6 separate regions of the Homo sapiens genome follow, and regions 1, 3, 4, 5 and 6 are each linked to region 2. Evidence: promoter capture Hi-C in 16 types of primary human blood cells and fetal thymus (Javierre and others, 2016). All regions are on one chromosome and are shown on one strand. Each heading gives the region's core, a stretch centred on a gene start or on the middle of the fragment in contact. The rest is flanking DNA. Distances are from core to core; before and after follow the strand shown.

The links. Contacts are between HindIII fragments. The CHiCAGO score rates a contact against its expected background, and 5 or more counts as called.
Region 1: a contact is called between a fragment that was not itself captured here and the fragment with the promoter of PTGER4 in region 2, in 2 of 17 cell types (activated CD4 T cells and endothelial precursors). The highest score is 6.6, in activated CD4 T cells.
Region 3: a fragment that was not itself captured here is called in contact with the fragment with the promoter of PTGER4 in region 2 in 1 of 17 cell types (activated CD4 T cells); the score reaches 18.4 in activated CD4 T cells.
Region 4: a contact is called between a fragment that was not itself captured here and the fragment with the promoter of PTGER4 in region 2, in 1 of 17 cell types (total CD8 T cells). The highest score is 5.2, in total CD8 T cells.
Region 5: a fragment that was not itself captured here is called in contact with the fragment with the promoter of PTGER4 in region 2 in 4 of 17 cell types (activated CD4 T cells, monocytes, neutrophils and 1 more); the score reaches 7.0 in activated CD4 T cells.
Region 6: a contact is called between a fragment that was not itself captured here and the fragment with the promoter of PTGER4 in region 2, in 4 of 17 cell types (endothelial precursors, naive CD8 T cells, total CD4 T cells and 1 more). The highest score is 5.5, in endothelial precursors.

The regions. Positions count from the first base shown.
Region 1 is chr5:40,208,023-40,211,328 of GRCh38, reverse strand. No RefSeq gene overlaps it. Among named protein-coding and RNA genes, the nearest start is that of LINC00604, 31 kb to the left of the region's middle. The HindIII fragment of the contact is 1,834 bases long and covers 371-2,204 here.
Region 2 is chr5:40,678,145-40,681,666 of GRCh38, reverse strand. It overlaps PTGER4 (prostaglandin E receptor 4), which reads right to left and starts at 1,752. Exons shown (of 3, transcript NM_000958.3): 1 at 1,189-1,752; 2 at 1-716. The coding sequence starts at 673. RefSeq lists an enhancer at 207-734 and a silencer at 1,870-2,089. The HindIII fragment of the contact is 6,362 bases long and covers 1-3,522 here.
Region 3 is chr5:40,277,368-40,280,929 of GRCh38, reverse strand. No RefSeq gene overlaps it. Among named protein-coding and RNA genes, the nearest start is that of LINC00604, 39 kb to the right of the region's middle. The HindIII fragment of the contact is 2,734 bases long and covers 340-3,073 here.
Region 4 is chr5:40,320,165-40,323,335 of GRCh38, reverse strand. The region is part of intron 1 of LOC105374736 (a long non-coding RNA gene); the gene reads left to right. Among named protein-coding and RNA genes, the nearest start is that of LINC00604, 81 kb to the right of the region's middle. The HindIII fragment of the contact is 8,266 bases long and covers 1-3,171 here.
Region 5 is chr5:40,261,446-40,265,070 of GRCh38, reverse strand. The region is part of intron 2 of LINC00604 (long intergenic non-protein coding RNA 604); the gene reads right to left. Among named protein-coding and RNA genes, the nearest start is that of LINC00604, 23 kb to the right of the region's middle. The HindIII fragment of the contact is 3,828 bases long and covers 1-3,625 here.
Region 6 is chr5:40,190,480-40,193,660 of GRCh38, reverse strand. No RefSeq gene overlaps it. Among named protein-coding and RNA genes, the nearest start is that of LINC00604, 48 kb to the left of the region's middle. The HindIII fragment of the contact is 1,316 bases long and covers 1,082-2,397 here.

The DNA.
Region 1 (3,306 bases), core at 38-2,537, 470 kb after region 2:
TGGCTGGTCTCGAACTGCTGACCTCAAGTGATCTGCCTGCCTGGGCCTCCCCAAGTGCTGGGATTACAGGCAGGAGCCACTGTGCCCGCCCTGCTTTGAGTTTTTATGGATCCTTTTTCCCAGATAGAAATTACTCATTTCTGAGAAGCTGTTGAAGCTATTTACAGGTTATTGTATTTCAATTGCCTCTCTTTTTTCTGTTTAATTTTACTATTTTTTATGGGAGTGATGCTAAAAAGACCTCCTTGAAGGAAACAATAGATTGTAGAGTAAATACAAAGCCAGTTATTCTGTATCCTCATTTCAGATGGGGATTGTCATACTTCAAAACTTAAGCAAGTGTAAGTGGATTTAGCTAGTATTTCAAGCTTCAACATGAAAAGAAGTTGCATCAGCTAATTGAAAATACATTATGAGTTATTGTTTCAATTTCTCAAGGCATCTCTACTTCCAGTAAGTGACTACAGATAACTGTTGAAAAATGTGCCTATCTTCCAGTATGCACACATATAATACATAACTTTGTGTATGCGTAGGCATGTATGTATATGTATATGTATACTTATTTGAAACATTCTTTTATATTCTAGTGAATAAGTTCATTGAGAAGAATGTACACAAAAGGCCCATGCTAAGGCAGCTATGTATACTAGTAATTCTAACAATTTGGAAAATCATTTGTTTCTGGTACACCTTTGGAGATAACTGAAGGTATCCAGAAAGCAGCAATCTGTGTCAAAGGCCCTGGATTCTACTGTAAACTCTGCCACTAACAAGTGGTCTTAATCAAGTAAATCAAGTAAATGGACTCTCTGTGCTTCAGTTTTCCATCTGAAAATTGAGGTTTTTAGATTAAATCTTCCCTAAAGTTTAATTTTGGCTTAAAATTCTGATGTTATAATGTGACATCAGTGGTTTTAATAAAATAACTGCATATTTCCTTACAACTACAAAATAGTGCCACAGAATATTCTAGATTTATAAAGAAGGATTAAGGTAAATTGAACTCTAATACTATTGTTGAGCAATAATAATTAAAAATGTCTAATCTTTACTGTATGATTACAAACAAAGAGGAAATAACATAACAAGTAGTATAGTTTCCATTCTAGATTAGCTAAAAATGTAATCCATTTCAAGGTTATGCTTAATTTATGAAATTATAATTTAAAAAGATGTGGCATCATATTCATACACTAGGCATCAAGCTACATGCTTTACACACTCATTTGACTTACAACCTTGTGGGATGGATACTATTAATATTTCAAATTTACAGAAAAATGGATAAAGGTAAGGATATGCAAATTATCTATAATCACTCAGCCAGTATATATTAGAGCTGGGATTTGAACCCAGGTAGATTGTCTATAGATCTCATGCTTTTAAACCATGCCTGTTCCCTGACACTTTACAGTATTTCATTGTCTATGATCTTTTATTGTTTTCTCATATACGTTGTAAATGTTTATACCATGGTTCTATCTAAAATACCTGATGAAAGTGTATTTTGTTTTCAATGTGCCCCAAGATTTACAAATTTTTATAATACTCTTTGTCTTTTCATATGGTCAAAGAAATCCTGGAAGTTAAAGTTAGTATTATTGTTATTTTTTATATGAAATAATAGAGACTCTGAGAAGTCTGCCAGGCTTTCATAACTAGGTCTTAGGGTTGGGTCTCCATATTTTAGATTCTATCTGCTCTTTGCTTTTCCATTGTACTACTTATATTATAAACATGCCATTTTCCATGGTTAGGATGAAAGAAACAAACATAAAATTTGTAAAATAATCATATAATTGCGTTTCTCAGGTATTAGTACATTTGACTTGTGGTGTGGTTTCCAATTATGTTGAAAGAAACAAGATTCTCTCCCTTGATTTTGGAAGATCAAAGCCTTCCTGCATTGGTTACTTTCAGAGATATTGAAATGTGTTCTGCAGGTCATGATAATAAAATGGTACTTATGTGGTTTTTTTCATTAACTATTTATGTAAAATAGAAGACTCATAGACTAAGAAGGATATTGAATGATTTTCTAGTTGCCAATTCAAACAAGTATGTAGTGCACAGTAGCTATGTTATACCCAAGTAACAGGTCAATTAAATGAGTGGAACTGCCAGTTGTTTGCACAGATTCAAGAGGCAAAAATCACAGATCTAGGCTGTCCTATTACTACAGGCCAGAGGTAATAAAAGCTTTCTGTAGTCAGTTGACTAGAATGTTCTGGAGTAAGTGGTTCAGTCCCATAGCTTCTCCATTTGCTTTCCTCTTGCAGTAGTGGCATCATTTGTTGAGTAGTTTACTGAAAGCTGACAATATGCAAGTCACTATGCTGGCAGTGAGAACTTTAAAGACATAAAAATACAATCCTTGCCCTAGAGGATCATTTAGTCACACACAAAAAAGGCCAATCAGCCAAGATATGCAAAGTCAGGGGGTTCAGGAGAGATTGTTTCAAAATAATCACATTGATAAAATAATTAATGTGCTGAAATGTATTGATGAGGTATTTACAAACTTTGGAGAAAACTTGGGTCTGAATTGTTAAAAAATGTACAAAGAAATTTCAGTAAGTAAAAAATTACGACAACTGTAATCACTAGAGAAAAAGCAAATATGCAGGAAAAAAGAGGTAATCACTATGTACTACTGGGCACAGCTGTGAATAGCATTTACATGTGCTTAATAATGTAGGAAGTGAATACTTATCTATCCAATATTGCAAAGTAAATGTTAGCAAGATAGAGAGAAAGCATGTGTCTGTAGATCAAATCATATCTGCATCAAGAATTACAATTATATTAAACATGTATTGAACCTTACATAATGAGATTTTGAAAAGCATTCTTAACAATCACTCTTCTTGTAGACATGCCCTGTTGCTTACTTTAGTCACTTTCTATGTTGATGTACTGCTATTAACTAGAATGTAATGTTTTAATGTGAAAATATACAGAGTTAGTAAAACAGCGAGCTACCAGCAATCACATATTTTAATGTTTTGACTAAATAATGTGGGAAAATATGAAAACAATATTTTGATAAGACTATCCAACAGCAAATAACAATGTATTGGTATTACTACTATTTTATAAGATGCTTTTGAATTAAAAGAGGTAATTTCCCTTATTAAAAAAGTTTTCATGTTAACAATTGAATCTAGGTGCTGGGTATACAAGTATTCATCGTATTGTTCTTTCAACTCTTCTGTGTATTTGAAGAGTTGAAATTTTTCACAATAAAACGAGGAAAAAGAACTGCAATCAAAAAAACAAAAAATAAAAAAGTTTTCAAATTTC
Region 2 (3,522 bases), core at 503-3,002:
TGCCCAGCGAGGTGCGGCGCATGAACTGGCGGTGCATGCGGAGCAGCGCGCCGCACACAAGCACGTTGCAGAGGACGGTGGCGAGAATGAGGAAGGAGCTGAAGCCCGCGTACATGTAGGAGTAGGCGGCGTGCGCCGTCACGTTGGTGGTCCAGTCGATGAAGCACCAGGTGTCTGGGTACTGCAGCCGCGAGCTACCGAGACCCATGTTGGGCAGCGCGCAAAAGAGCACGTTGGACGCATAGACTGCAAAGAGCGTGAGGCCCGCCAATCGCTTGTCCACGTAGTGGCTGTAGAAATAGGCATGGTTGATGGCCAGGTAGCGCTCGACACTCATGGCGCAGATGATGCTGAGGCCGGACAGGCTGAAGAAGAGCAGAATGAAGGTGCTGTACTCGCACAGCGGCTGGCCCCCGGGCCATTGGCCCTTCATGTACGTGGCGATGGTCACCGGGCTCACCAACAAAGTGCCCAACAGGTCGGTGACAGCCAGCCCACATACCAGCGTGTAGAAGGTCGTCTCCTTCTGCTCCTTGCGCGACTTGCACAGCACCACGATGGCCACCAGGTTGCCCACCACCCCGAAGATGAACATCACCGCCGGGATGGTCACTGGGCTGTTCAGCCGGTCGGGGCTCAAGGAGGCGGACGAATTGACCCCGGGAGTGGACATGATAGTGGCTGGCGGTGCGCAGCCTTGGAGTGCAAGGCTGGGTCTGGGGATGGTAGAAGAGAGACAAAGCTGCCGTGAGCGGAAATTACCACTTGTAAGGTGTTAGACCCGCGCCCGAGAAACGATACACTGATAAGACAAGGGGAGCAACTCGATCCTACTTTCTGGATTGTAGCCACTTACCAACTGCGGCCACCAAAATCTCCAGGCTCGCGATACGTCCTGCCAACAGCACACTCTTGCTGACATTAATATTTATAAACTGATTTTCCCATTCCTCTTCCTCCCCACAATCCAACTCACTCCATTGCCAAGATGAATAAGACCCATCTCAAGGGAAAAGTAGCTCGCTAGTGCTATTCTCGATAGATTCTGAATCAATAAAATGCTCACTGAAAACAAGTTACAAAAGCAATTTGGAGAGCGCGCTCTTCCCTTCTTGGCTCTCTTCGGCGAGGGCCGCATCCCTGCGTTCTCTACCCGTTGACCCCAACGTCAGCCCAACGCCATCTCACCTGTAGCGGCAGCAGCGGTGGCAGCCTCACGAGCCCCCAGGGTCAGCCCTCAGATGTCCTGGACCCGCCTCCAACCTGCTTTCACCTTGTCCTGCTCAGTCTGGAAACTGCCAAATCTTCGGCTTCTCAAAGCCGGTCTCAGTGGCTGTCGATTTTTGGACACCGAGGTCAGAGTTGCCAGCTTTCAAAAACTTGGGAAACAAGAGGTGCAGCGGGATGGGTCAGTGAAGAATGGTGCTGGATTTCTTACTCGCTATTTTTTTTCCTTCAAAGACGAGTCCCAGCTTTGCAGTGCCCGCCGGTCTCGTCTGCGGGAGGACAGCGTTCAGGTGTGAGGCTGTGCGCGCAGGTGGCGCGGAGCCTTGGTCCCCAGCTCTGGCTGCCCTCCGCCCCAGCCACGGGCAGCACGGGCGGCTACTGGAGTTTGCGGCTGCCGCTGAGGCCGCTCCTGGCTACCTGGGGGCGGCTCGGGGTCCACTCTGCCAGAGGCTCTGGCCTGGGGCTGTTCATCTTCCTCTCGGGCTGCCGGGCTTGGAGCTCCGCTCTCGCCTTTCCACCCTCTGTACAAACTTTTCTCCTCCTCCAAGTTTCCCTGGCGGAGGCGGAGGCAAACCGCGCGCTGCCCGGGCGCCCATTGGCCGGATTGGAAGGGGGCGGAGCGCGTCCTCCCTGGGCGCCGCAGGGAAGACTGGCGGGGGGCGGTGTCTGGGCTGGGGCGGGGCTGGGCGCGCGGGGTGGGGCGGCTCCCGTGGTTTTCACGCCCTCGGAGGTGCGGAGTGGGAACTCGGAGGGGACCCTGGGAAGCCCCGGTGCTTTCCCCGGCGACCGCTTAGCCGCTCCTGAACTCGGCTTCCAGTGGGGCCACCACTGAAACCGGCGACCGTTTCCGCCTCGCTGCCTGCCGCTCGGAGTGTACTATTTCTTGAACCTCCTGTCCGCGGGCCGCAACATCTAGATCGTGGAAGAGAGGGCAGTTGTTTTAGGATTCTACCTAGGGTTGGCCGAGAAAGGAGAAGAAATACGGTGTCTGCGCTAGCGCGTGCGCCCCGGGGTTAGACTTGGGTGCGCCCAGCGGACGTGGTAGGTGGGTGGGTGGGTGGGTACCAGATTGGGCGGGGAAATAACGAAGAATCCATCCTCTCACCATAAAAGGAGTTGGAGTCAGTTGGCAGTGCCCAGACTGCGGGCTGCGCTTGGTCGGGCACCCCAGGCAAAAAAGAAAAAAAAAAAAGAGAAAGAAAGAGGAGGAGACAGTGATTGCAGCCTCTCCCGGCGCAGGTGGCAGAGCCTTGCGGCTTTGGAGAGAGGTGGAGCCTTGGTGAGGTTGGGAGGACTGCCTAACTGCGATCTTTTTCTCCATTCTTCCTCCTGGGAACTTCTCCGCCCTGAAAGGGTAGCGTGAGCTTCATGCCTTCGGCCGGCCGTGTTATACTCGTTAGACCCAATTCACCATGAATCCTTTGAAAGACTAGTGGAGAGTGAGAAGGGGGTTTCAAAGTCACTGGAGTAAAGGAATTCTCCAAGCACCACCTCATGATTAATTCTTGGAAAAGCCTGTTTGCGCGGCCCTTAGAATCATTTTGACTTCTTGTCTAATGGTGAAGTTTTTCTCTGTAATCCTTCTACTCTGTTTTCTAAAACCAGAACTAAAAACCTAAAAAATTGTAAAACTTCATGGTGTAATTAAAACCCCTTCACCATTTTTTTTAAGTAAGATTGTGTGGCCTTATTGCACAATTTAAATTCCTGGAAAAACCTCTTCCCATCTGCAGTGTACAAGCATTCTAACATATTATGTCTCCTCACAGGGTAAGTAAATAACTGGATTCTTTTATGTGATAAGCAGGTACCCATTTCTTAAATGTTATTTCGTGAACGAACAAACCTCCTAACTGGTTCTTCAGTTAGTCTCAGCAACACATGGGTAATAAGAGAAACTAAAAGGGCTTTCCGATTTCAAGTAATTACAGGTCATAAAATATCCAGAATCATATTTACTTGCAAAAGGCACTATATGGATATACTAATAAAGAATTATTCTGTTTATACTATTTACTTAATAATATGAGAAAGAAAAATACACATTTGTTAGCCAATATTAAGATTGATGGTGATTGGTCATTTTCTTAAAAATCTTCTTTTAATCAGTACTCTAATCACTTCTGTTGTCGATGCTTCCTTTGAACAGTAACCTCTAGGATTGTGTCAGCACAGAAAACAAATCAACATTAGAAAAAAGGAAACTGCACACTCTGCGCCATTCCTCACTAACCACATTGCTTTGCTATCACTCATGTCAGTTGCTTGTCAGTAAATATATGGAGGGGAGGTTGG
Region 3 (3,562 bases), core at 457-2,956, 400 kb after region 2:
GAGCAATTTTCAGTACCAGCCTACAACCTTCAAGTCACCAAGTTAGCTGGGAACCTGAAAAAAGTCCCATTTCTTTGACACCAGCAACCCAGGCCACAGTCCCAGTGTCGTAGGAGCCACTAAATCATGTCCTACAGCTCTCAGGCTCCCAACACTGAAAAACAGTCATAAATCACGTGAGTGGTTCTGGGTGGATGGAGATCACTCTTTGCCACGACTGATACAGAATATTATCTAAAGGCTTGTTTGACGTTTGTTTCTCTTTCTCTCAGGAGTTTACCTTAGGATCCAGGGTTCTTAGCATGGATTTTATAAATTGGCTTCACAAGTTCTTAAGCTTCCAGAATTCTGTGCATGTGTAGGTCTATTTTTTTTTCTCTAGAAGAAGATTCTGATTCTTAAAGGGGTTCAGAGACTACCACAATAGTAAGGGTTGTTAATTTTTGATACCCACATAGATTTGACTTAAGCAGAAAATTTTGTACCTGTTTCTCTCCTTTTTCTAGGAGCGTGGGGTAGAGAGTCTGTTTTTACAAAGTTATTCTTGGTAAAACACATGTGGAGTTGCCACATTTGAGTTAAATATTTTGATATTACCACATATGTTTCAAATCATTAACATAACAAATTAAGGACTATAATTTTTTTGGCATTTGTTATTTTAAAATAGTTCCCATAGATCTCCAAATTATCTTTTGATGAATTTTAGTTTCATAATATAAAAAAGATAGTGTTTTCTTAACTTATATTTTTTGATATGATTCCAGGCCCATTACCAAAAAGAAGAGCTTGTCTGAGTCATTCCAGGAGAGGCTGACCAATTTTTTTCATAAGAGTTTTTAGAGTATTTTTAAATTTTCAATTTTATATTTAGCTTTTCTGTTCATTCTCTGCTTATACAACAACTGACTCCAATTAGATTTTATAGAGATTTATAAAGCAGACATGTATTTTTCGTTTTTTGTCTTCTGATATGTATTATCCACTATATACTTCAAATTATTTTTTAACCAAACGAAACACTGACTGCAGAGTCCTGCCAATTATTTCATTTTCTCATAATGCTTCAGAGCACATACAGAATATTTAAATAAAATTAAAAGTAGCAATTTATTTATTTATTTGAGACAGAGTCTTGCTGTGTTGCCCAGGCTGGAGTACAGTGGCACCATCTTGGCTCGCTGCAACCTCTGCCTCCTGGGTTCAAGTGATTTTAGTGCCTTGGCCTCCCAAAATGCTGAGATTACAGGTGTGAGCCATTATACCCTGCCAGAAGTAGCAATTTAGTTGCAATAGGAGACATTGAAAAAATTTCAGATGGTTGTTAGGACTTTGTGTAGCTTTCATAAAACAAAAATTCTTCAAACTGTGTTAAAGGCAGCTTCAAATTAAACACTAGATTATTTAACCAATTTTTGTATTGAAACTACTAGCATCTTTTATGGACCTGCAGTAACCTTTTGACATATTATGCTAACTTTTGTTTTTTTTGGCTTGATTTCAACAGTACATAATTACATTAATGTGGGTAATAAATTATGTGAGAAATATAAAAGAGATTGGAATACATTTTTAACCTAAGTCATCTTTCAAATTTAGTTTTCTTCATTAAATACAACTTTTGCTCTCCTGTTCTTATGTAAAGGAGGAAAAAGTTGGGTTGTGTAAGGCAACTAGAGTGGAGAATTTAGTGTGGTTGGATGTTCATCGGGTTTTCTTAATAACTTCTTCTTTCCCAATTTACGAGTGTCCATTAGTTCAGGAATTGAGCAAACTCTCAGGGGAAGAAAGTCGGGGAAATTATTAAAAGTGATGATCCCTTCTCCTTCCCTTGGCATGACAGTCATTTCCTTTCCACACAGTGTGTTCAAATGACCAACTATGGAAAGTATGTTTAAATAGCCGACTGCTCCCTGTTGAGTCCTGTAAAAAGGGAGAAAGTGTTATCTAAATGGAGCGTTTCTTTATTTAACTGTCAATTATGGATGGGAAGTGGATAAGAGAGAGAGGCAGGGATAACAACTGTGGAGAAAGTGCTCTGCTAGGTTCTTCTAACCCAAACCAGCAGTGCTGCAGGTGTCCAGCATGCCTCCTTCCTCCCTCAGCCTGGATAGGCATAGCTCCTTCCCTGTTAACATCATTAGGCCTCTCCATTGCTCACTGGAATAGCAGAATCTAGGTACGTTTGCACCATCTCTTTGGTTTTCTCTTTTACCTGCCTATGCTTCACCCCTGTTTACTTCCAGAGTTCTCTTTTCCAGTCACTCATTCTAACTCTAAATTCTTGCCAATTTCCCCTCCTCACTGACTTGGGTTTTCCCTTTTTGCAGCATTCATCACTTTCTGGGGAAGTCTTGTAAAAGACTTTGGGGGAACATTTGAGGTTCAGGTAGCAAGAAGCCCAGCAAGGGGAGAGTGTGTCTGTCAACAGAGAGATGACAGATGAAAACCATCTCACTAGCTGTGGGGCATTAACACAGACCAAATAAAACAATGTGCTGTCTGGCTGAGCCTGGTCCATGAGCAGAGCCTGAGCTAAGCCAATTTAAATGACTTGATCTATATTCCTGAATACTTACCAAAGGTGGCAGATTGAAGGTGAGAATCAACAGCTATAGATTTGGCATAATGTAGGATGAATTTGCAAGATTACCTGTTCATTGAAAGTCATTGACTAGGAGACCCAGATTGCATTCTGGCTGGTTCCAGATAAATTTTCCCATTGTGGGCTTTAATTTCCTAACCATAAAACAAAGGCTATAGGGAGAGGTAAAAGCGCTGGTTTCTAAAGTTCTTTTTTTAAAATTTAATTTAATTTTAAATTTTCAAAAATTTTAGGCAAATTTCACTTGGATGGTTTCTAAAGTTCTGAGCTCTAAAATTTCATGATTTTAGGACAATTTTGTCAAAATTTTCTGTTTTGTTAGCTTGCCTCTGTATTTAAAATTCCACATTCAGAGGTGATTTTGTAAAACTTATGTTGGGGAGGGACAATAAATTATGGCAGTATTAGCAGAGGAATAATTTTTATCAGGAAGCTAGCTACAGAATGCAGCAACGTGTAGGTGAAGCTTGGAAAAAAATTGAGCTCATAAAGTACATTGGCAGGGGATGATTTCTCTATAATAACCTGAGCCTCAAGGTGCTGGGTGTTGAGAAATGAGTAGAAGGCTGAGAGATGGAAGTCCCCAAGGCCAAACCTATATTTATGTTTTTTCAAAAAGTAGTGTGATGCTGCAAGGAAATGGAACTTCCAGACAAAGTTGCTGTGGCTTAGATGACTCACTACAAAGGTACAACGATCAGTTTCCCCAGGATTTATGCTACTTCTCGGAAGAGAGAGAATTTGTAGAAAAAAAGCTGATGAAAATTTAGAGATCTGTTCTATAAACCTAAGAGAGGAAGGAAGCAAAAGATGCTTATGATTTCATACTACCTTCTGTAGGTTTCACAGATTTGAAATTTGAATCTACATCAAAGAAGCTGAAAAGAAAAAATTAGTCAAGGCAGATGAGCATATCATACCACACCTCTGCCAGCAACACCAGAAAATGAGGAACAT
Region 4 (3,171 bases), core at 373-2,872, 360 kb after region 2:
AAGTCTCCTGAGGCCTCCCTGGCCATGCAGAACTGTGAGTCAATTAAACTTCTTTTCTTTGTAAATTACCCAGTCTTGGGTATTTCTTTATAGCAGTGTGAAAATGGACTAATACAATATGTAACAAGTTTTAATAATTTGTTAGGAGCCCAGAAAGAACCACAAAAGTTTAAGAACTCTGAGAAAGAAGAAAACTAAACAATAAGTAAAAGTAATTCCTAGAGTGCACAGAGGTATAAATTAATAACAACAAATATAGATCAGATAGTATTATTTTGACAACTTCACTGTCTTCATATAACTTCAGAGAAGCCAGGCTGATATCTAAAATTATTTAACTTATGCGTGTAATCCCAGTGCATTTGAAGGCAAGGTAGGAGGGTGCCTGGAGGTCAGGAGCTTGAAATTGAATTGGGCAACACAGTAAGACCTCATCTCCACAAAAAATAAAGAAAGTTAGCCAGGTGTGGTGGGGCACCTCAGTGGTCCCAACTATTTGGGAGGCTAAGGCAGGAGGATCACTTGAGCTCAGGAGTTTGAGGCTGCAGTGAACTATGGCCATACCACTGTACTCCAGCCTGGGCAATAGAGTGAGATTCTGTTCAAAAAAACCCCACAATTATTTAACAGATTATAATTGTTGCCTCCAGGGTGTACTCTGAAGCTGATAATAAAATGCCATACCTTTCACTCAGTATGTCATAATCAGAAAGCTCTGTAAAAATACAGATCTTAAAATATTATGTTTATGACCACTGGGGTATAGAAGCCAGGGCATAGGCATGTAGATAGATATTGTATTGGTCCCTTGAAAGACTACTGTAGTTCTTCTCTTATATATTCACATCTTGCACAAGTGGAGTCAGTTTTTATTCTGTTTTAGATTATGTAATTTATGTTCCATTGTGTAATGTTATTTCCTTACATTATTAGTAAATCCAGTATTTTGACCAACCTGTCTTTTTGTCTTTTTTAAGTTGGTTGTCTGCCTATCTATAAAGCCATTCTTCCATCTTTAGTTCTTATCAAATCAGTCTTTTCTATTTGATGCTGTTTTTAAATGATTCTTTCCTAATTTTCTCTAGCTTTTCTCTGTGCCAATAAGTATCTGATCTAAAACTCAATGAATGTTCCAATATAAATTGGTGATATTCTTAAATACACTTAATTTTCTGGAAGTTAATTCAATAGTTAACTCTTTATTTACAGATATTATCTCAGACAAGTGCTTTTCCCCCCTAGTCTCCCTAGGTGGTGCCAACAAAATTTTTCCTCACTCAAAATCCTGTAGATTGATTGTCTTCTTTTCAGGTTGCTGACTTTCTTTGCAGCTGAGATTCTCTGTGAGATGTCTACTAACCATTAGTAGAAAACTAGTGATTTTTGTTACTAATGTAATTAACAATTGTTCAGAGACTTCAATTTACTTCAATTGATGAAAGATGACCATTCCATAACCCCTGTGGGATAACACTCAGAATGTGAGTATGACCATTCTATAACTATTGTAGGATAGCACTGAGAGTGTGAGTTTACCAATTCCAGTTTTATTCTAAACTGAGTCTCTGTATGATTTCATGTCTTCAAACAATCAGTTGCTAAGATACCCTTTGTCAAACAATCCAGTAATTCAATAGGGAAAAAATAGTCTTGTTTTTGCCAAGTCAAAACAGGTGAACTGTTCCAAATAAAAATATAAAAGATTATGAATCCATGAACTCTTAACCCCTAAAATAATGTAGAAAATTGTGATCTGTGAATGTATGCATTTTCCAGGGAGAGGATTTTTTTACTCTTATTAGATTGTCAGCTCCTTGCACAGTGCTTGACACATTGTTAAATCTGAATAAATATGAGTTGACTGAAGTATGACTAAGTAATTCTAAAAATGATTCCTTCATTATTAAAAAGGAGTCTAGGAATGACCAGAATTACTTTTTTTTTCTGTCAATTTTCCTCTCTAAAAATCTTAGTTTCTCCTTTTTGATTTTCTGAGGAGGTGACTACTGGACGTTCTGAATCCTTCATGTTTCTTGACTTTTCTTTCATACTTTCTAATTCTTTATCTCTTTATGATATATTCTGGAAAATTCCTTTACAATATTTGCTGGGAAATTCATCAATTCAGACTCCTAGCTCACCAATCCACCTTCAGCTGTGTTTTTTCCCCTGCTATTCATATTATTGAAATGTTTTAATTTTGATTTCAATACTATTTTCTCATGGTATTTTTTTCCCCCACTAGCCTGATTTTATTCCTTAGATTTGATGACCTCTTTCTGCTTATCACTCATCCAGGGATTCCTAATGGTTTCTGGTCCATGGAGGTTCCTTTTCTTGATTTTGAATGTAGTTATGGTTTGAAAAGATAATTTGATGTCATTTTTAGAAATCCAAGATGATCAGGCCTGAGGGAAATGATACATGTGTGCCTACCCTCTTTAGGTAGAAGTCCTTACTTTTTCTCCGAGTGTCTTTTGAAGCCAGTTACCCCCCACTTAAAAAAATAGTATTTCTTATTATATTGTAAAAATCTTATGGAAACGTTGTTAGGTCTAAAAAAATAAATGAAACCCATAAAAACTAAATCACACTGTTAAATATCGCTATTAGTGTTTTTGATAAATATCTTTTTATTGAATGAGACTTTCTTATTTCTTGTATGTTCAACTCATGGGATGGAAGCAGGAGATATCCATGAGCTGAGAAAAACACACTTAAGGTTAAATTCATGGAGGAGGACAATGTAATGTAATTTGAAAGGAAATAAGATTCTCTTTAGCCAATTGATATCTGAAACTTATGCTCTTAGAGCTGGGAACATGAGGCATAGCACTGGAGATAGCTGTTAGAAGGTAATTGACTTTCTCAATGTGTAGTGTCTGTGATTATTATTATGTTTGTTGCTGTTTTTATTATTGAGACAAGGTCTGGCTCTATTGCCCAGGCTGGTGTGCCGTGGTGTCATCTCGGCTCACTGCAACCTCCACCTCCCAGGCTGAAGCCATCCTCCCACCTTGGCCTCCTGAGCAGCTGGGACTACAGGCATGTGCCACCACAACCAGCTAATATTTGTATTTTTAGTAGAGACAGCATTTTGCCGTGTTGCCCAGGCTGGTCTCAAACTCCTGACCTCATGTGATCTGCCTGCCTCAGTCTCCCAAAGTGCTG
Region 5 (3,625 bases), core at 633-3,132, 420 kb after region 2:
AAATTTTGTTTTTGTACTTATTTTAAATTGCTGTTATTGTTTGTTGTTTAATTATTGTGAATTATCCCCTTATAAAAATATATAAAATATATTTATTTCTTTTTGGATTAGTCAGAATTTTGATTGTTCCAGTTTTTGCTGTTATCAACAAAGATGTCGTGAATATTCTTGTCCATGTCCCTTACGCCTATGTGTGTTAAAGTTTCCAGGAAGAAACTTACGTGTTCATAGGAAAAATGCATTTTCAACTTTATCAGCTAATGCCAAATCCAAATTGTTTACCAAAGAGCATGTACCAATTCACGCTAATCAGTAGCGTAAGAGAAGTAAAATAGCCTCTTATTGCCAGACTTCTAATTTTTTTGTCAGTTGAATGAAAATCAACTAGTGTCATATGATTGTTTTAGTGGTAATTGTCCTGAATTCTTTAAGTTTGAGTTGCGTTTAACATATTTATTAATACTTTTAGTTTCCTCCCCATGAATAATACTGACCTTTTGGTCATTTTATTTGCTTTAGATCACTCTTTTATTACTTATTGATTTGATCCTTATTCTTTATATAGTAATCTAAGTATTAATTCTTTGCAATTTGTGGATAAATATCTTTTCCTGGTTTATTATTTGTCTTTTATTTTTGTTTATAGTTCCCTATCCTACTCGATTCAGTAAATTTGAATTTATCAATCATTCTCCTTTGTTTTGTTCTTTTTTCTCATCCAAAAAATATGTTACTACTCCAATTCATAAATTATGTTCTCCTATATATGCTTCTGAAATCTTTAGAATTTTAGTTTATACATTTGTTAATAACTCACCTGTAATATGTTTAATGTTTGGTTTTTATGCTACTTTTTTCATATGTTTTACTTCCACACATATTACAAACTACATAATGGATTATTATTTTTGCTTTAAGTGGGTAATTATTTTTTAAAGAAATTATTAACTAAAGTCTTTCATACTTGCCATTTCTAATGCTCTTCAGTTCTTTCTGCAGACCTGTGTTTCTATCTGGTATCATAACTTAAAGCTGAAGTACTCTCTTCACCAATTTTTATAGTGCCAATCTGCTGGCAATGAAGTCTATCAGCTTTGTTAGTCTGAAAATGTTTTTACTTCACCTTCATATTTGAAGGCTATTCTACTGAATATAGACTTTTAGGTTAGCAGTGACTAAAAAAATTTTTTTTTAGCTCTTTAAAAATACTGTTTCATTGTCTTGTGGGATGCATTACTTCTCATATGAAGTCAGCATTCATTCTTATTTGTATTTTTCCCCTTTGGTGCATTCTCTCTCTCTCTCTCTCTCTCTGTCTCTCTCTCTCTCTGTCTCTCTGTCTCTCTGTCTCTCTCTCTCTCTCTATATATATATATGTTACAGACACACACACACACACACGGAAAAGCCAATGGTGTAGCTCTGGTATGAGTCTGAACATTTGACAATTAGTTGTGCTGATGGTGTAAGTCCCAGTCTAAGGGCAGGAGAAGACTGATGTAGTAGTTCAAGCAGTCAGGTGTAGAAAGAAAATTCTCTCTTCCTCTACCTTTGTGTGCTATCCAGGCTCTCAGTGGATTGGATGATGCCTATCCACCTGGAGAGGGATATCTGCTTTACTCAGCATACTGATTCAAACATGAATCTCTTCTAGAAATACTCTCACAGACACACCTGAAATACTATTTAACCAAATACCTGGGCATCTTGTGATCCAGTGAAGTTGACACATGAAATTAGCCATAACACATACCCATTCTCTTTTTCTTCTCTTTGGTTATATTTGAGGTTTTCCTCTTTCCCATATCCAATCTAAATCCCTTCCTTCCTTCCTTCCTTCCTTCCTTCCTTCCTTCCTTCCTTCCTTCTTCCCTCCCTCCCTTCTTCTCTCTCCTTCCTTCCTTCCCTCCTTCTTTCTCTCTCTCTCTTTCTTTTCTTTCTTTCCTTCCTTCTTTCTTTCTTTTCTTTCTTTTTCTTTCTTTTCCTACCTTCCTTCCTTCCTTCCCTCCTTCTTTCTTTCTTTTCTTTCTTTCTTTCTTTCTTTCTTTCTTTCTTTCTTTCTTTCTTTCTTCCTTTTCTTTCTTTTCTTTCTTTTTTCTTTCTTTCTTTCTTTTCTTTCTTTTCCTACTTTCCTTCCTTCCCTCCTTCTTTCTTTCTTTTACTTTCTTTCTTTCTTTTCTTCTTTTTTCTTTTGTTCTTTCTTTTGTTCTTTCTTTCTTTCCTTCTTTCTTTTCCCTCCTTCCTTCCTTCCTTCCTCTTCTTTCCCTCCCTCCCTCTCTCTCTCTTTCTTTCTTTCTCTATTTCTTTCTTTTTTCATCTTCTGTCTTTCAAAGGAATTTACCCTGTTGGTTATATTGCTTTTGAGAATTAACACTTTATTTATTTTATTTATAATTAATTAACACATAATAATTATATATATTTACTGGATACAATGTGATGTTTCAATGCAAATACACATAGTATAATGACCAAATTGGGGTAATTACCACATCCATCACTTTTAACATTTATTATTTATTTTTTGTGACAATATTCAAAATCTCTTCTAGCTATATGAAATAGGCACTGCATTGTTATAGTAACCCTGTTGTATTTCTTAATGATATTCTTACTGGCAGCAATTAAATATCCTCAGATCTATTCAACTCTTTAAAAAACACATTTTACCCCACCACCTCTTCCCTCTGTTATCTTAGTTTTCTCTCATATCCTAGCATATCTTTCAAGAGAGTTGTATCTACTTGCAGTTGCTATTTCCTCAACCCTCCACTCACTCCTTAACCTATTCCAAACTGACTGGCTAAAGTCACCAACCACCTCCATGCTACCAAATGCAATGGAGATTTAAAATTATTTATAAGTGTCTCAGCACAATATGACATCATCGAATACACCTCATTTATTTAAATGATCTCTTTATTGGTTACTGAAATAATATATCTTTCTGGTTTCCTTTCCTACCTCTTTGGCATTTAGTCTCTTGTCTTCACTGGGGGCACATTCTCTTCATATTGGCCATTAATTACTGGAATTATTTGAATTTCATTTGTAGATCTTTTTTCTTTTCATACTCTTTACTTTTATATTAGAAAATCTCATCTTTTGTTTGTTTGTTTTTTGAGAAGAATCTCGCTCTGTTGCCCAGGCTGGAGTGCAGTGGCACCATCTTGGCTCACTGCAACATCTGCCTCCGGGGTTCAAGCGATTCTTTTGCCTCTGCCACTGGAGTACCTGGGATTAAAGGCAGGCACCACCGGACCCAGCTAATTTTTGTATTTTTAGTAGAGATGGGGTTTCACCATGTTGGCTGGGCTTGTCTTGAACTTCTGACCTCAAGTGATTCGCCTGCCTCAGCCTCCCAATGTGGTGGGATTACAGGCGTGAGCCACTGCACCCAGCTGGGAAATTTTATCTTTAACCATAGCTTCAATTACCATGTACCTATTTTTTTATAGCTCTTGGATTTTTTTTCTCCAGTCCAGAATTCTTTTCTGAACTCCAGACACATATTGGACTATACACTCAATATTGTCCCTCAGATATCTGAAAATATTCTCAAACTTCAAAGGTACAATATCAGTCTCATGATTTTGTTACATCAAATATAATCCTTTTCAATTAT
Region 6 (3,181 bases), core at 490-2,989, 490 kb after region 2:
TTTTTCTGTGCTTACACAACTAATATGAGTTGGGATTTGAATTTAAAAAATGACTCCTTAATTACAGTAACTTTTTCTTCCTTAATTTTATTTCCTATAATCCATCTGTCATATAATACTTAAAATTTCACTTTAAGAAACAGCTTCTGTCTAGATTGACCAATACATTATTTTGACCCTCGGGCAAGGCTGCAAAATTCACCTTAAAAATGTCTGTTTCTTTTGGTATGCCATTTCATGTGAACTCTTTTTTAGTTCCTCTTCAATGCTTTTCACAGCTTCCTACCTTTCATACTTCATAGTCTGAAAACCTGGTTGATTCCCACCCTCAATGTCTGGTCTCTGGCCCAAGAGCCTAAGCTCTCCTGCACAAATGCAGGAGAAACTTTCATCTTATACGTCAAACACATTTTCCCCAAAAATTTATAACAAAAAAATCCTAAAATGCCATGCCAGGAATTATTTTTTTCTTATGGCTCCATTTTATGCGAATGTTTTTGAGTAACATCCTCAAGAACATTAAGTCGAGGAAGAAAAAACTGCTGATCCATTTACACTGGTTCAGCCAGATCAGTAAAAGTTAGAACTGATGGTTTGTTCACATTGCTCGTTTTGATGTTCATAATGGCTGAGATGATGACAGTTCAGACTCATAGGATCAGGAAAACCCTACAAACTAGATCGCTGACATCCGAATCAGGAATCAGGAAACGTAGGGACTTATCGCTAAATTTTACTGTTGAAATATATCTGAGGGATAATTTTGGTAAATTTCTGGATCGTATGGATAGGAAATTAAATTTCAAGGTCACAAACCCACACATTAATCTCAGGCCATTGATTCTGAGCAAAAGTATTCTTCAGTGTCCTAAACATTCATGTTTTTCCCAAGTATCATAACTGACACAGACTCCTTAAACATTTTTATACTGCTGTGATCAAGTTATTTTATTTTCAAGCCAAAGCTATGAGTGGGCTTAAATCACAGAAGCACATCAGAATTCTAGAGTGAGGGAACCACAACTGGGCTGAGAACAAAGAACTGGAATACAGTTAAGAGAATGATTTGTCCATTTAAGCTTGGTGTCAAGGTGAAACATTTAATCCAGAAGCTGGCTGGTAATTAAAGATCTAAGCACATTCAGAAAAACACAGAGGTGAGTTTTTAAATTTTGGACCTTCATCCAAAGCAAAGGCACTTTAGGCAGTACAGTGTAGTTGTTAAGAGTTTTGATCTTGGAGCATGACAGCCTCAGTTTGAAACCAGCATTGTCACTTAATAGCTACATGGAAAAATTGCTTTTTCTATGTCTCCTTTTTTTTTTCCTAATTCCAAATAGGAGATAATAAAACTACTGAATTCAAACACTTCTTATGAGAATTGAATGATTAAAGGGTTTGTAACCGTGCCTGGAGGATAGTAAACACTAAGTGATTTCTAATAAATACTATGCCAGCTAATGTGTACCAAGATATTCATTGTAGCACATTTGTAGAATTAAAGAATGAGAAATAATATAAAATACTTTATACTTTATGGAGGATTGGTTAAATAGATCACATTATACCCACACCAAAAAACATTACATTGCTGTTAAAGAATGTGAGGTGGCTCTATAGGTACCACTTGTGCTATATGGAGAAGTAAATTTCTTAAATTAATCTAACAGGATGGTATAGTTTTTTACTGACATATTTAAAAATATATGCTATGCCTGTGTATGCCCCAGAAGTTTTGGCATTTTTTACGCCCATCTGTTGAATGGTTTCCCTTGAGGTCTGGGATTTTGGCAGGGGCAGATGGTGGCAGAAAGGAACCTTGGAAGAACCTTATTAACCTTAGCATTTCCTTTATTTGACTTTAACATTTGAATTATTTTTCAACTGGCAAATTTATTTTTTAAGAATGATATGTTCTATTAATAGTAAAATCTAGAGTAAAAAGAATGCAGTAGTATCTGAAGTAAGATTATGAGAAGTCAGAGGCAAGGAGACCTTAATATTAACTGCACCTGTAATATCTCCAAACCCATCTTGGAAGCTCACCCACTCTCATCCTTAAGAAATAGCTGGACTTGTGTTTCTTTCAGGTCAAGAGAGCACTTAAGTGACATTAAATAACCTGTTAAGAGTAATGCTTCTCTTCGTATACCAGGAAGTACATTCTGGAAGTGGGGACAATCTAGTTCTTATCCATTTAGTGTGCTTATGTAAAATGGCTTCTTCCACCTCTGAAATAACAACACAGCTAGACTTATTTACTTAGCCCTGGCTGCATTTTTCCAGGACATTACCACACAATTGGAGCCTGACATTAATGTGATTTATTGATAAGTTCATGACTGTTGTGCTCTCTTTGACATTGGTGGAACATAACAAATGAGAAACAGGAAAGCTTTAGTTCTGAGACAGTAGTGAGTTGCAGTACGAACCTGTGATCTGCGTAAGGAAAGGAATCTGGTTGGGTGCTTGCAGGGCTTTGAAAATTGGAGCATAATTGACTTCTCGAACATTACAAATTAAGTAAACAATTCATTTGTTTATAATTGTTTGTGAGTAGTCTAACCTCAGCTGTCCTCTTTGGTAATGCTGTCTGCGTCAGTTTGAAGCACATCTTGTGATGGATTAAAAAAGTATGTCAGATAATATAAACCAGAAGCATGGTTTTATAGAATCATTCCTGTCCTGAATTTACCTTGTCTCCTAATTATTGGCAAAATTAAAGATAAAAAAGAAAATCAGCAGAGGCAGAGAAAAGAAAGTAAAACTTTAGTCTTGTTCTTTTCTATTGATTCATTTATTGATTATATTTACTTAATTGTATGTAACAAGAACAAATAATGCCTACTTATCTTTGCATTTACCAATAAAGTTAAGATGTTGTGATTTTCAAAGTGAGATTTTAAACAGATCATGAACAAGTCTCAAGGGTATTAAGTTAATTGACCAGCTGATTAGAAATGATTCCATAATCTTAGCTGTAATGATGTAAAGACTGCTTAAAATCACTCACATCTTGTTATTTCATCAATAACCTTGATTATCTCTCTCCTGCCCAGCCTATGCATACCTCTCTATAGACTCTTTCTTCTTTACCCTTATTATATTACTCTTGCACTACTAATTTCAATAACAAAATCATATAGAAGGTTTTTTTTTGAAATCTACTGTCTATTGTCCA